Linked DNA regions of Homo sapiens: all the other regions are linked to region 1. Evidence: promoter capture Hi-C in human tissues and cell types (Jung and others, 2019). All regions are on one chromosome and are shown on one strand. Each heading gives the region's core, a stretch centred on a gene start or on the middle of the fragment in contact. The rest is flanking DNA. Distances are from core to core; before and after follow the strand shown.

Region 1 (4,669 bases), core at 1,245-3,744:
AGAATGGGTTTTGAGAGAAAGGCCTAAGCCACACCTTGGATAAACTATGGCTTTAAGTAAAATAAAAGTGGATTCTGATCTGGAGTTTTAAAAAAATAGGAAGACATCTCTAAAGTGTGTGTGGGGGGGTAGGTATTTAGTCCTTTCACCCTAGTTTTAAAAACTGTAATAACTACATTAACCAAAAAATGAAAGTAAAACATTTTAACACATTATCATGTGTAAGGATGATCCATTTGAGTATTTACAACATAGATCAATCTGATTTCATTTGGTCATTTCAGGAAGTTAAAAGAAAACCTATTTAAAGATGTTGAAAAGGAACTATTTTGATCAGAGGAATAAAACTGACAGTGAGACCTCTCTGGAATTGTCCTTAGAAACCTCCACCTGCCAATTCCTTAACGTGGTACCTAAAATGCCTGACACCGTTTCCTTAAATATATTTATCTTTCCATGGAGAAATTCAATAATTATTACCAAATTTTTCATTTTATAAGTACAAATATAACCCCTGAGGGCAATGAGCAACACATAATTACTAAACTTATGGATTGGTTTTGGTGTAAAGAAGTCCTGATATGAGAACCTTCAAAAGCTGAAATAATAACACTCAAAACAACCATGCACATTGACTGAGCAAATGCCACAGGTATTCAAGGTGTTCAAACAGATTTGGAACAGGTTTAATAACTCTAAACTATATGGCTTTTGATATACACTATTAAAAGTTGTCCCTTGATAGGAGGTAGACAAAACAAGTTAAGTAAACTTGAACAATGCCAACACTTTTCACCCTTAGCATGCAATGGGGGCCAGTGGGCAGTCACGTTCATCTAGGCAAAGACTAAGGGATCTTTTCTTCAAGTGAGTTAAAGGGCATAACAGACACATGATATAAGACAATTAATGTGATTTCTCAAGGAAGATACTCCAGCCGTGAATCATTATTATCTAAGTAAATGGGAATTTAATGACTTTTCGGACAAGGAACTCGAAACCTTTAATTTAAAAAACAAAGTAAAACAATTATCCTATTATCCTTCTTCCCACCATCCTTAGAAATATGTCTCTCTATACAATCCTTTCCAGTTTTACAGGGGGTCACTGAACATCCATTACACAGAAATTTCTTTGTGGAAGATGGAAACCTAAGGAAGACCCACCTCTTCTTTCTCTCTCACTGCCTTCCACTCCCAGCTGACCTCTGATTTCATCAGCTATGACTATTTTGCTGCATTTCCCTTCAGTGCCTTTACTTTTTTCTTTGTATTATGTTGCGCAGGTTATTTAGAACCTTTCTTGTCAGCCTTTCCCCACCTGCCACCAACCTTCTCTTTCCAAGATAGCACTACACCGTCAGCCTCTACAGAAGACCTTGGGTCTGAAAATTAAAACTTCGGGGGAATCTCAAGCAGCTTCTCCAAAGAGTCTTGCAAGGGGCCTCCCTGCACTAACTGGATCTTATAAATTAAAAGAATCAACCTCAAGCATAAGCAGAAGACACTTAGATAGGACATTTCCAGTAGGAATGTAACTTTTACTATGAAAAAATCATATTAAAGGTTAAAAAGTTATATCTAATACTTGAGGATTATTTATTTAAGCGTGCACACTTGAGAAGTTACCAGGCTTCAAACTTTTTCAGTCATCCCATTTTCTTGTCTGAACTCTACCAATCCTCAATTTACCCCAAATCTCGGAATGCCTAGGAGAGGTCTAAGAGCTCAAGTTCAAGTTTGGCCTTCACTCCCTCAACTCGAACCACCAGCATAGGAATTTAGGATGAAGCCACACCTAGAGTGGCAGAAGTGTCACCCAGGGAGTTAGAGGCAAAACTAGAGCTTATGCCTGGGCGTCGCTTTCCTCAAACCAGGATTCTCTTCATTTCCTTATGACAGAGCACATGATCAGAAGACTTGATCAACTGAAGACTGATAACCATGGAATCACACAACAGAATGAGCCCATAAGGGAGCTGCAGGGGGACTGGGGCCTCTGGACGGCCGCTGTGAGGTGGGGGTGCACTCACTGCTCAGATTCAGCAAGGAGTCAAAGACTTTGCACTGGATCTGCCCGGTGCTCTGCGACACGCAGGACATCCACAGCCCCTCGTACATGGCCTGGGCGGTCACGATGTTGTCGCCGGCATAGGAGTAAATCCTCCACTGGGGCAGGGCAGTGCTGACGATGGCGCCGATCCATCCCAGGAAGGCGAGAATGAAGCCCAACAGCTGCAGCCCCGCGTTGGCCATGACTCGCTCGGGCGCCCGCGCTGGCTCAGGGGTGGCAGGTGCAGAAGGCGGAGAGTTTGCAGGTGGGCAACCCGGACTCCCGAAGGTGGCTGGGCCCCGCGGAGGAAGTTAAGGCGGGGAGCCCTGCTCGCTGCGCCGCCGCTGGAGAAGCTCTGGGTCGGGGTTGGGGTCCGCGCCCGGGGCGGCGCTGGAGTCTGGATACTAGAAGCTGCGGTTGCTCCCAGGCTCGGGAACTGAGACGCAGAACCGCTGGGCGCCGCGATTTAAAGCAGCTCCGCCCGCCTCAGCCCCGGCAGCCGGGGAGCGCCCCCTGGCGGTTTCAGGGCGGCTCACCGAGAGGGCGCCGGGAGCGCCCGGTTGGGGAACGCGCGGCTGGCGGCGTGGGGACCACCCGGCAGGACCAGGCACCAGAGCTGCGTCCCTGCTCGCTTTCTCTCGTGGATCTTCTCGCTCCTGTAAGGCGTTTCACGCTTTTCATTCATTCACTCCAATTATCCAAAAATTACTATGCACTGTACTTGTAAATCCTAACACAAAGATGAAAAAATGATCCTTCAAGAGCTGCAGTTTTAGGTTTAATACTTTTTTCCCAATATCTTATTAAAAGGCATTTCTACCCAACTCCGCGTCTCCTCCCCCATCACACCATTTCTCTCTCCTTTGCTTGGCTTCCTCCCCCTTCTTTCCTCTCTCTGCTCTCTTCTGTCAAGGTCGTTCCATCACTTGTCTCTGCAAGGAGCCTCAGAGACTTTTACACTCTACAGATTGGGAAACAGACCCAGAGAGCAACATGATTTACACACACACACACACACACACACAGACACACTCACGCACGGAGCATATCCAGTACTTGGCTCCCCTCCCAATCTGCTTTCCACTACATATCAAGTTGACCCAAAATATCCCCTTTGATCTATGATTGTCCTTTTTGATGTATTATTGTCCTTATGAAACTGCAGGCTAGCAGCCCTTCCCCGCCAAACACCAACCTCCTCCCCACAGCAGTTATGTCTTAGAGCAGCAATTCATTATCAGAGGGACCTGGCCAGTGCCCCGCTCTCCCTGAAAGGTGTTAATTTTGTGAGTTATCAAATGTTGTTCGTCGCAGGTGAGGACATGTAAACAGCGTTTCCCCAGTGGCAAAAGGACTGGGCTGGAGTTGAGGAAGTCTGGGCTCTGGTTCCAGCTTTTACTGTGACTGGCTATCTCACCCCTCCGGTTTCGGTCTCGCTGGGACTGTAGTTTCCCTCTATGTTTCTCCAAAGCTTCCTTCTTTGTAGTTAGTCAGAAGTGCTGTTGTGGTTAGGAATCATTGAAATGTTTTTCCAACTGCTTTTTGTGTGTGGTGCGAGTGTGGTGGGAGGGGAAGCTTCTATGGTTTTAGTAAAAACAGAAGCATCTTGGAAGCAGAAATAAACATATTAAGGATAAAATAAGATATACCCTTATATACCATGGCAACTGCTAGTTGGTGACAGAGAAGGAAAGGTGCAAATTCTCAAGGTGGGAATGGGAAGAAAGGCCAAGCCCCACCACCTTCATTTCCACCTGGCTCTCCCTGGATGCCTTTCATGTAGGCTTAAAACTAAAGGACTTGGCCGTGCTAGGATTTAGGGACAAGCAATGAAGAATGTAAGACAGGAGCTAGATGAAGACAATTAATTTGGACTGAGATTAACACAGTGAATACTGTCTTTCTCCTATCAGCTGTTTAGGACAAGACCATGTTCGTGTTGTATCCCAGGGTTAGGGCCTGCAGTCAGTACTACTGTCTAGGTCTCAGTGGATGTTCTGTGGGTGCCTGTCAGTGTGGATGAAGATGTATCAATCACATTTGATTTTGTAAAAATTCCCTGATCAGAGAAGGCACTGGAATTTGCTGCAGGACTAGAGCAGTACCATGTGAATCATATAATCTCATTTTCTTCTTTTTTTTGTTCCAAACATTTAAGAATTAAAAGTATTATTAAACACCCGGGCACGGTGGCTCAGGCCAGGCGCAGTGGCTCACGCCTGTAATCCCAACACTTTGGGAGGCTGAGGCAGGCGGATCACTTGAGATCAGGAGTTCGAGATCAGCCTGGCCAACATGGTGAAACCCCGTCTCTACTAACAATATGAAAATTAGCCGGGCATGGTGGTGGGCGCCTGTAATTCCAGCTACTTGGGAGGCTGAGGTAGGAGAATTGCTTGAACCCGGGAGGCGGAGGTGGCAGTGAGCCCAGATCGTGCCACTGCACTCCAGCCTGGGCAACAGACCAAGACCCCATCTCAACAAATAAATAAATAAATAAATAAACAAATAAATGACATTTTCTGCGTTCAGTAAATATATTTGTGCACAGGCCCTTTTACTCTGCATTACAACTGGTTTCTATCAACCTACAATTAGCGGGGAATCGGAGGGATGA
Region 2 (4,155 bases), core at 655-3,154, 1.1 Mb before region 1:
TATTCTATAAACTGGTTAGTCTAGTTAGCAGTTCCTGTAGCCTTTTATCAAGGTTCTTAGCTTCTTTGCATTGGGTTAGAACATGCTCCTTTAGCTCGGAGGAGTTTGTTATTGCCTACCTTCTGAAGCCTACTTCTGTCAATTAGTCAAACTCATTCTCAGTCCAGTTTTGTTCCCTCGCTGTTGAGGAGTTGTGATCCTTTGGAGGAGAAGAGGCATTCTGGTTTTTGAAATTTTCAGCCTTTTTGTGCTGGTTTTTCCTCATCTTCATGGATTTATTTACCTTTGGTCTTTGCTGTTGGTGACCTTCAGATGGAGTTTTTGTGTGGTCATCCTTTTTTTTTTTATATTGATGTTACTCTTTCCTGTTTGTTAGTTTTCCTTCTAAGTCAGGCCCCTCTTCTGCAAGTCTCCTGGAGTTTGCTGGGGGTCCACTCCAGACCCTGTTTGCCTGGGTATCACCAGCAGAGGGTGCAGAACAGCTAAGATTGCTGCCTGCTCCTTCCTCTGGAAGCTTTGTCCCAGAGAGGCACCAACCAGATGCTAGCCAGAGCTCTTGTGTTTGAGGTGTCTGTTGACCCCTGCTGGACGTGTCTCCCCATCAGGAGGCATGGGGGTCAGGGACTGACTTGAGGAGGCAGTGTGTCCCTTGGCAGAGCTCAAGCACTGTGCTGGGAGATATGCTGCTCTCGTCAGAGCTGGCAGGCAGGAATGTTCAAGTCTGCTGAAACTGTGCCCACAGCCGCCCCTTCCCCCAGGTGCTCTGTCCCAGGCAGATGAAAGATTTATCTATAAGCCCCTGATTGGGGCTGCTGCCTTTCTTTCGGAGATGCCCTGCCCAGAGAGGAGGAATCTAGAGAGGCAGTCTGGCTACAGCAGTTTTGCGGCGCTGCAGTGGGCTCCATCCAGTCCGAACTTCCCAGTGGCTTTGTTTACACTGTGAGGGGAAAACTGCCTACTCAAGCCTTAGTAATGGTGGACGCCCCTCCCCCAACCAAGCTCAGTGTCCCAGGTCGACTTCAGACTGCTGTGTTGGCAGCGAGAATTTCAAGCCAGTGGATCTTAGCTTGCTGGGCTCCATGCGGGTGGGATCCACTGAGGAAGACCACTTGGCTCCCTGGCTTCAGCCCTCTTTCTAGAGTGAACAGTTCTGTCTTGCTGTGTTCCAGGGACCAATGGGGTATGAAAAAAACTCCTGCAGCTAGCTTGGTGTCTGCCCAGATGGCCTCCCAGTTTTGTGCTTGAAACCCAGGGCTCTGGTGGTGTAGGCACCTGAGAGAATCTCCTGGTCTGTGGGTTGTGAAGATCGTGGGGAAAGCGTAGTGTCTAGGCCAGAATGCACCATCCCTCATGGCACAGTCCTTCATGGCTTCCCTTGGCTAGGGGAGGGAGTTCCCTGACCCCTTGGGCTTCCCAGGTGAGGCGACACCCCACCCTGCTTCTGCTTGCCCTCTGTGGGCTGTACCCACTGTCTAATCAGTCCCAATGAGATGAACTGGGTACCTCAGTTGGAAATGCAGAAATCACCCCTTCTGTGTTGATCTTGCTGGGAGCTGCAGGCTGGAGCTATTCCTGTTCAGCCATCTTGCCCAGGAATCCCTTTTTTTTTTTTTTTTTTTTTTTACGAAGTCTTGCTCTGTTGCCCAGGCTGGAATGCAGTAGTGTGATCTCGGCTCACTGCAACCAACCCCCACCTCCTGGGTTCAAGTGACTCTCCTGCCTCAGCCTCCCAAGTAGCTGGGATTACAGGTGTCTGCCACCACACCCTGATAATTTTTTGTATTTTTGGTAGAGACGGGGTTTCAGCACGTTGGCCAGGCTGGTCTCAAACTCCTGATCTCAAGTGATCCACCCGCCTGGGCCTCCCAGACTGCTGGGATTATAGGTGCAAACCACCATGTCTGGCCTATTTGTTTTTTATGCCCATAAGAAACAACAGTGAAGGAACTGCAATTCTGAGTGGTTGAGTGACTTGTATGCAATCGTGGAAACAGATGATGGTAGCATCTGAAACATGAAATTCTCTGATTTCACCTCCTCCTCTGCCTTTGTCATGTGCCTAATTCTTACTTGTTCTCAAATGCATTGTAATTTTTGATGGTCACTAAGCCCCATTTCTTTCCCCATATTCTCATCTGAACTCTAATGAGGAGATAGAATATAGACAGTTTAAGGCTTAAAGACCTTGTTCTGAAGTCGGGCTGACAGGGAGTCAATCCAGATTTCCCTCTGGGTGACCTGGAGCAAGTTACTTAACAATCCATGCGTCGGTCTTCCCATTTGTAAACTGGAGGGAGGAGGGGAGGGTTGGATAATAGTATCTCTCTTATTGGTCTGTGTTGAGGGTTCCATGAGATAATATGGGTAAAATGCTTAGAAGAACATTTGGTATATAGTAAGCATTTGAATTACGCAAGCATCTTTAATAGTTTTGGTAGAAAGACCTTGGTTTAGGATTCAGGGACCTGGGTCCTGATACATTTTCCTGATATAAGTCCCCTCCCCTTGCTGAATCTCCTCTTGCTAAATTTCTAAAATCTCTAATTTTTCTTTGTATTGAATCCTATACCCTTGTAGTACTATATTAGTGTAGCAATTTTCCAAAAGCCATTCATCTTAGAGGGCTAAATGATTTTACCTTATCAATTCCTCCTGTGAAAAAATATCTCTAAAGAGGTTTTCTGCTGGAAAATATTGTTGCTGTCACATTGATATGCCAACAAAAGCTAAGCAGGGAGGTCAGGCCAAGAAATATCTCCCTGCAAGAGAAGGCATCGCACATGTATCTCTCCATGCTATTTAAATTTGCATTCTGCAACATAGAAGGGATAGGCCATGCTGCAGAAGCCAGGTCCAGGAAACTGCTTTCTTTGGCCTTTACACATCCTTTTGGAGAGATGCTGGTGAAAGCAGCAACTACCATCTGCCTCCTGTTGACTTAGTGTCAGCAGGTGGAGGGAGGAAGGAGGGCATCGCAGACATCATTCTATTATCTCAACCTTGCTTTCTCGGATCCAAAGGCCAAGAAGTTGCTGCTCCATGCCCTCAGAGCTCTAATTTGGCACCTCTTCCTGAAATGAGAGCTTGAAAGGGCTTCTGCTCTGGGTGAAACCGGCTCGTGGCCCGGGCCAATTCTGCTGGCTTCGCGTCTGTCAGTGTGTCCTAATCACTGTTATAAGTGTGGTTCTGCGGAACATCTTGTAAAATATTTTCCTATTGCTCCAGCAACATCTCCTGTCTAGACAATCTAATTATGAACACAGAGCAAATAGCTGAAGTGTATGCCGCCCCCAAGGGTTGCATAACTCCAGGAATGGGGCTAGGAAGACAGGGGAGGGAGGTGTGTGTGATGTTCATTACTTTTTTGTTGACCTGACCAGAAAATTGAGTGCTCCAAAAGAATCTGGCTAACTTTTAATTAAGAAGAAATGATCTGGTGGAAGCTGGCATTTTGTTGTTTTTCCAAAGTCAGTGGAGGATTAAAGGTACTGATGTGTTTCCCTCTAATCACGTCTTTTTCTTGGCTTCAGAGGTGGTTTGTGGTCTTTGCTTAAAAAAAAAAAAAGAAAAAAGCCATTGACTTAATAATCTGCCCTCCCAGCAGCATTTTGCAAACAGAAGGCAGCTCTTTTAACTGTATGTTCTTTCTAAGCAGTAATTTGATTACATTCAGAAAGTCCTTCCTAGGCTTGGCCATGTGGCAGCCATTGTGTACGACAGAGTGGCAAGACATAGCCTCTGCCACCAAGATGTTCACAGTCTCAATGCGATGCAAACGTATGCACACACATGCTTTAGCCCAAAGCAGGCTTTGGTTAGGGCTCCAGCAGAAAACCAACAGTGTCATGGGCACAGGAGAGGGAGAAAGAATTGCTACTGGGAGATATGGGAAGGTCTTAGGAAGAAGGTAGAATCTGAGGAGTTTATTACGGGATGAGCCAAACTTGGACAGAGAAATAGAGAAAGCAGGACAAGGGCAAGCATAAGCTAATGCCCAACTAGTGTGCTCATGTGAAGTCTCCCAGTTGTCTGGGCCCCAACTGTTGGGAAAATATGGTGAAAGTTTCTAAATGGTTTTGAATGATGGTATGAGGAGTTTGGGTTTCAGTCATATTAGGATATGAGATTATTGAAGGTTTTTGGGGAGGAGCCTGA
Region 3 (4,398 bases), core at 302-2,801, 1.1 Mb before region 1:
GTTTAATTTTTTTCTTATTGATTTGTAAGAGCTATTTGTGTATTAGAGAACTGAATTCCTTTTCTGTCCTATATGTTGCAAATAAATTTTTCCCAGTTTGTCATATCTCTTTTAACATTATTATGCTATTTTTCATGACCTTTAGTTTTGGGGTATTGATATGGTTTGGTTGTGTCCCCACCAAAATATCAACCTGGACTCTATCTCCCAGAATTTCCACATGTTGTGGGAGGGACCCATGGAGAGGTAATTGAATCATGGGGGCTGGTCTTTCCAGTGCTATTCTTGTGATAATGAATAAGTCTCATGAGATTTGATGAGTTTATTACGGGGTTCTGCTTTTGCTTCTTGCTCATTTTCTCTTGCTGCCACCATGTAAGAAGTGCCTTTTGCTTCCTGCCATGATTCTGAGGTCTTCCCATCCATGTGAAACTGTAAGTCCAATTAAACCTCTTTTTGTTCCCTGTTTGGGGTATGTCTTTATCAGCAGTGTGAAACAAACTAATACAGGTATCAAATTTCTCATTCTTTCAAGGCTTCTAAATTTATGTCTTTTTGAGAAAAGCTTTCTCCATACTATAATTATAAAGTAAATTTCCAAGTTTTTGTCTAGTAATTTTATTTTACTGTTAACAACGAACTTATATTTCATCTAAAATTTGCCTTGAGTAAAGAAGAAGGTATGCAATCAACTTGAATTTTTATCCAGATGGCAGGCTAGATTTCTCGATATCATATATTTGATATTTTATGTTTATTATTTTATAATGTAGTACTTTTCTCTGTGTGTTTCTGTACCTGGATTTTCTATTCCATTCCATTTGTGTCTCTTAAAGCTCAAAATGGTTTTAATTATTATAACCTTATATTATGTGTCAATATCTGGTTGAGTTATTCCCCATTTATTAATCGTTTTTTATTTATGCATATTTATTTTTTAATCAGCTTGTCTAATGTTTGAAAGTCTTATTTTTATTAAGATTTTCAAATATTAAGTCAGTTCTTCATTCCTAAGGTAAACATGTTTGGTTGTGACATATTATTCTTTTTATGCATTAGTGGATTTAGTTTGCTAATATTTTATGGATAATTTTTGTGCCTGTGTTCATGAGGGGTATTAGTCTGTTATTTTCATTTTTTAAAATGTTTTTGCTAGGTTTTCATATTTTGGCTATGCTGCCATCATAAAACAAGTTGGAAAATGTTCCCTCCTCTTTTATTTTTTAAAAGATTTTTTATATGAGTGGAGTTATCTTTTCATTGACTGTTTGATAGAGTTAATAAGGGAAATCTTGGCCTGATCATTTCTTGGTGGGAAATTCTCATAATAAAGTTAATTTCTTTTATAAATATTGTGTTTATCATAATTTTTTCTCCTCAGGAGGCCCTCCCATCACAGGTCCTGAGGCCTAAGAGGACTAATTTTTTTATTTCATATTAATTTTGATAAATTATATTTTTAAAGGAATTTGTTGTTTATTTAAGTTGTTGCAGCTGAAGGCATAAAGTTGTTAATAATATTTCCTTATAATCCCTTTAATGTCCATAAGATATTTAGTGATATCTTCTTTCTTTCCTCATATTGGTGATTTTATTTATTCTCTCATTGGTATAAAGAAATATTTAAGACCAGGTGATTTATAAAGAAAATAAGTTTAATTGGCTTATAGTTCTGCAGGTTATACAGGAAGCATAATGGATTCCACTTCTGTGGAGGCCTTAGGAAATTTCTAATCATGGCAGAAAACAAAGGGGGAGTGAGGCATCTTGCATAGTGGGAGCAGGAGCAAGAGAGAGAGGGGTAGGTGCTACATACTTCTAAGTGACCAGATCTCACTATTGTGAGGACAATACAAAGAGGATGATACCCATTCCTGCTAAATCTGCCCTCATAATCCAATCACCTCCCATTAGGCCCCACTTCTAACACTGGGGGTTTAGTCCTCCTAGGCCTCAGGACCTGTGATGGGAGGACCCCCCAAGGAGGTCTCTAAAATGCCTGTGAGTTGTTTTCCCTATTGTCCTGGCTATGAGCATTTGCTCCTTTTTATATATGCAAACTTCTGAAGCCTACCTGAATTCTTCCCCTGAAAATTGGCTTTTTTTTTTCCTACCATATGGCCAGTCTTCAAATTTTCCAACTTTTATGCTGTTTCTTCTTTAAACATGAGTCCAACTTTAAGTCATTTCTTTGCTCATATGTATGAGTATAGGTTCTTAGAAGCAGCCAGGTCACATCTTGAATGTGTTGATGCTTAGAAATTTCTTCCACTAGATAATCCTAAATCATCACTCTCAAGTTGAAACTTCCACAGATACCTAGGGCAGAGGCACAGTGCAGCCAAGTTCCTTGCTAAGGCATAACAAAAGTGACCTTTGCTCCAGTTCCAAATAAGTTTCTCATTTACATTTGAGACTTAATTAGCCTGGCTTTCACTGTCTATATCACTATCAGCATTTTGGTGATAACCACTCAGCCAGTCTCTAGAAAGTTCCAAACGTTTCCTCATCCTCCTGTCTTCTTCTGAACCCTCTAAACTCATTCAACCTCTGCCTGTTACCCAATTTCAAAGTTGCTTCCATATTTTTAGGTATCTTTATAGTAATGCCCTATTCCTGGTACCAATTTTCTGTATTATTCTGTTCTCTCATTGCTATAAAGAAATATCTGCGACTGGGTAATTTATTAAAAAAAGAGGTTTGCCGTGTGCAATGGCTCACACCTGTAATCCCAGCACTTTGGGAGGCCAAGGTGGATGGATCACTTGAGGTCAGGAGTTCGAGACCACCCTAGCCAACATGGTGAAACCCCGTTTCTATTAAAAATACAAAAATTAGCCAGGCATGATGGTGCATGCCTGTAATCCCAGGCTGAGACAGGAGAATTGCTTGAACCTGGGAGGTGGAGATTTCAGTGAGCCAAGATCGAGCCACTGCACTCCAGCCTGGGTGACAGAGATGAGACTCCATCTCAAAAAAAGAAGAAAAAAAAGAGGTTTAATTGGTTCAGAGTTCTGCAGACTATACAGAAACTTCTGTTTCTAGAGAGGCCTCAGGAAGTTTCCAATCATGGCAGAAGGAAAAAGGGAACAAGGCATCTCACATGGTAGGAGCAGGAGCAAGAGAGAAAGTGGGGAGATGCTACACACTTTTAAATGACCAGATCTTACAAGAACTCACTCACTATCATGAGGAGAGTACCAAGAGGATGGCATTAAACCATTCCTGAGAAATAGGCCCCCATGATCCAATCATCTTCCATCAGGCCCCACCTCCAACACTGGGGATTACAATTCAAGATGAGAATTGGTGGGGACACAGATCCAAACCATATCAGTGATCTGTGTCTTCCCTCTTTTTTCTCTTCTGTTGATGATCATACCAATTCTGTTGGTTTTTAACAAGATCATGCTTTTCACTTGGTTAACTTTTACTATTGTTTTGCTAATTACTAATTAGTTGATCTCTATCTCTGCTCTCTTTTTTTGTTGTTGAGGCAGTTTCACTCTTGTTGCCCAAGCTGGAGTGCAACGGTATGATCTTGGCTCACCGCAGCCTCCACCTCCGGAGTTCAAGCGATTCTCCTGCCTCAGCCTCCCAAGTAGCTGAGATTACAGGCAGGTGCCACCATGCCCAGCTAATTTTTTGTATTTTTAGTAGAGATGGAGTTTCTCCATGTTGGTCAGGCTGGTCTTGAACTCTCGACCTCAGGTGATCCGCCTGCCTTGGCCTCTCAAAGTACTGGGATTACAGGTGTGAGCCACTGCGCCCGGTTCATTTCTACTCTTTTCCTTATTATTTCCTTTCTTCTACTTTGGGTTTACTTTTTCTTTTTTTAACTTCTTGAAGTGCAGCCCAAGGTTATTGATTTTAAACTTTCCTAATATGAACATCTACAGTTATAAATTTCCTTTTAAGTACTACTTTTGCTGCTTCCCAGAGATTTTGATATGTTGTGTGTCTATTATCATTTAGAGATATTTTTAAATTTTTCTTGTGATTTTCCTCTTGACCCATGGATGCATTGTAAGTTGTATTGGCTAATTTCCAAATATTTCAGGTTTTTATAGATATCTTAATTATACTTAATTCTAATTTAGAGAGCATACTGTCTTTAATTTTATTCCTTACTGATACTTTCGGATTTGTTTTATGAAGCTCATTATGATATATCTTTGTGAATTTGTCATGTACACTTGAATTTTATTTGTAGTTTTTTACAAATATCAATTGGGATATTGTGTTTGATAATGCTATTTAGATTATATATATTTTTACTGATTTTTTGTGTAGTTTTTTAATAGTTACTGAGTGGAGTGCAAAAATCTATCACTGTGGAATTTTCTAGTTTTCTTTTTAATTTTGTTAACTTTTGCCTCACATATTTTGAGTCTATTA

The links. The method cuts DNA at HindIII sites, captures the fragments that hold promoters and counts their contacts. A contact is called where the count stands out against the background at its distance.
Region 2: a fragment that was not itself captured here is called in contact with the fragment with the promoter of CLDN1 in region 1 in 1 of the 25 tissues and cell types used here (mesenchymal stem cells).
Region 3: a fragment that was not itself captured here is called in contact with the fragment with the promoter of CLDN1 in region 1 in 1 of the 25 tissues and cell types used here (thymus).

What each region holds. Positions count from the first base shown.
Region 1 is chr3:190,319,952-190,324,620 of GRCh38, forward strand. CLDN1 (claudin 1) reads right to left here and starts at 2,495. Exons shown (of 4, transcript NM_021101.5): 1 at 2,033-2,495. The coding sequence starts at 2,255. It also overlaps a transcript of CLDN16 not described here. RefSeq lists a silencer at 2,486-2,645. The HindIII fragment of the contact is 5,719 bases long and covers 1-4,377 here.
Region 2 is chr3:189,257,863-189,262,017 of GRCh38, forward strand. The region is part of intron 4 of TPRG1 (tumor protein p63 regulated 1); the gene reads left to right. Among named protein-coding and RNA genes, the nearest start is that of TPRG1-AS2, 19 kb to the left of the region's middle. The HindIII fragment of the contact is 8,541 bases long and covers 1-4,155 here.
Region 3 is chr3:189,241,447-189,245,844 of GRCh38, forward strand. The region is part of intron 4 of TPRG1 (tumor protein p63 regulated 1); the gene reads left to right. Among named protein-coding and RNA genes, the nearest start is that of TPRG1-AS2, 3.1 kb to the left of the region's middle. The HindIII fragment of the contact is 3,005 bases long and covers 50-3,054 here.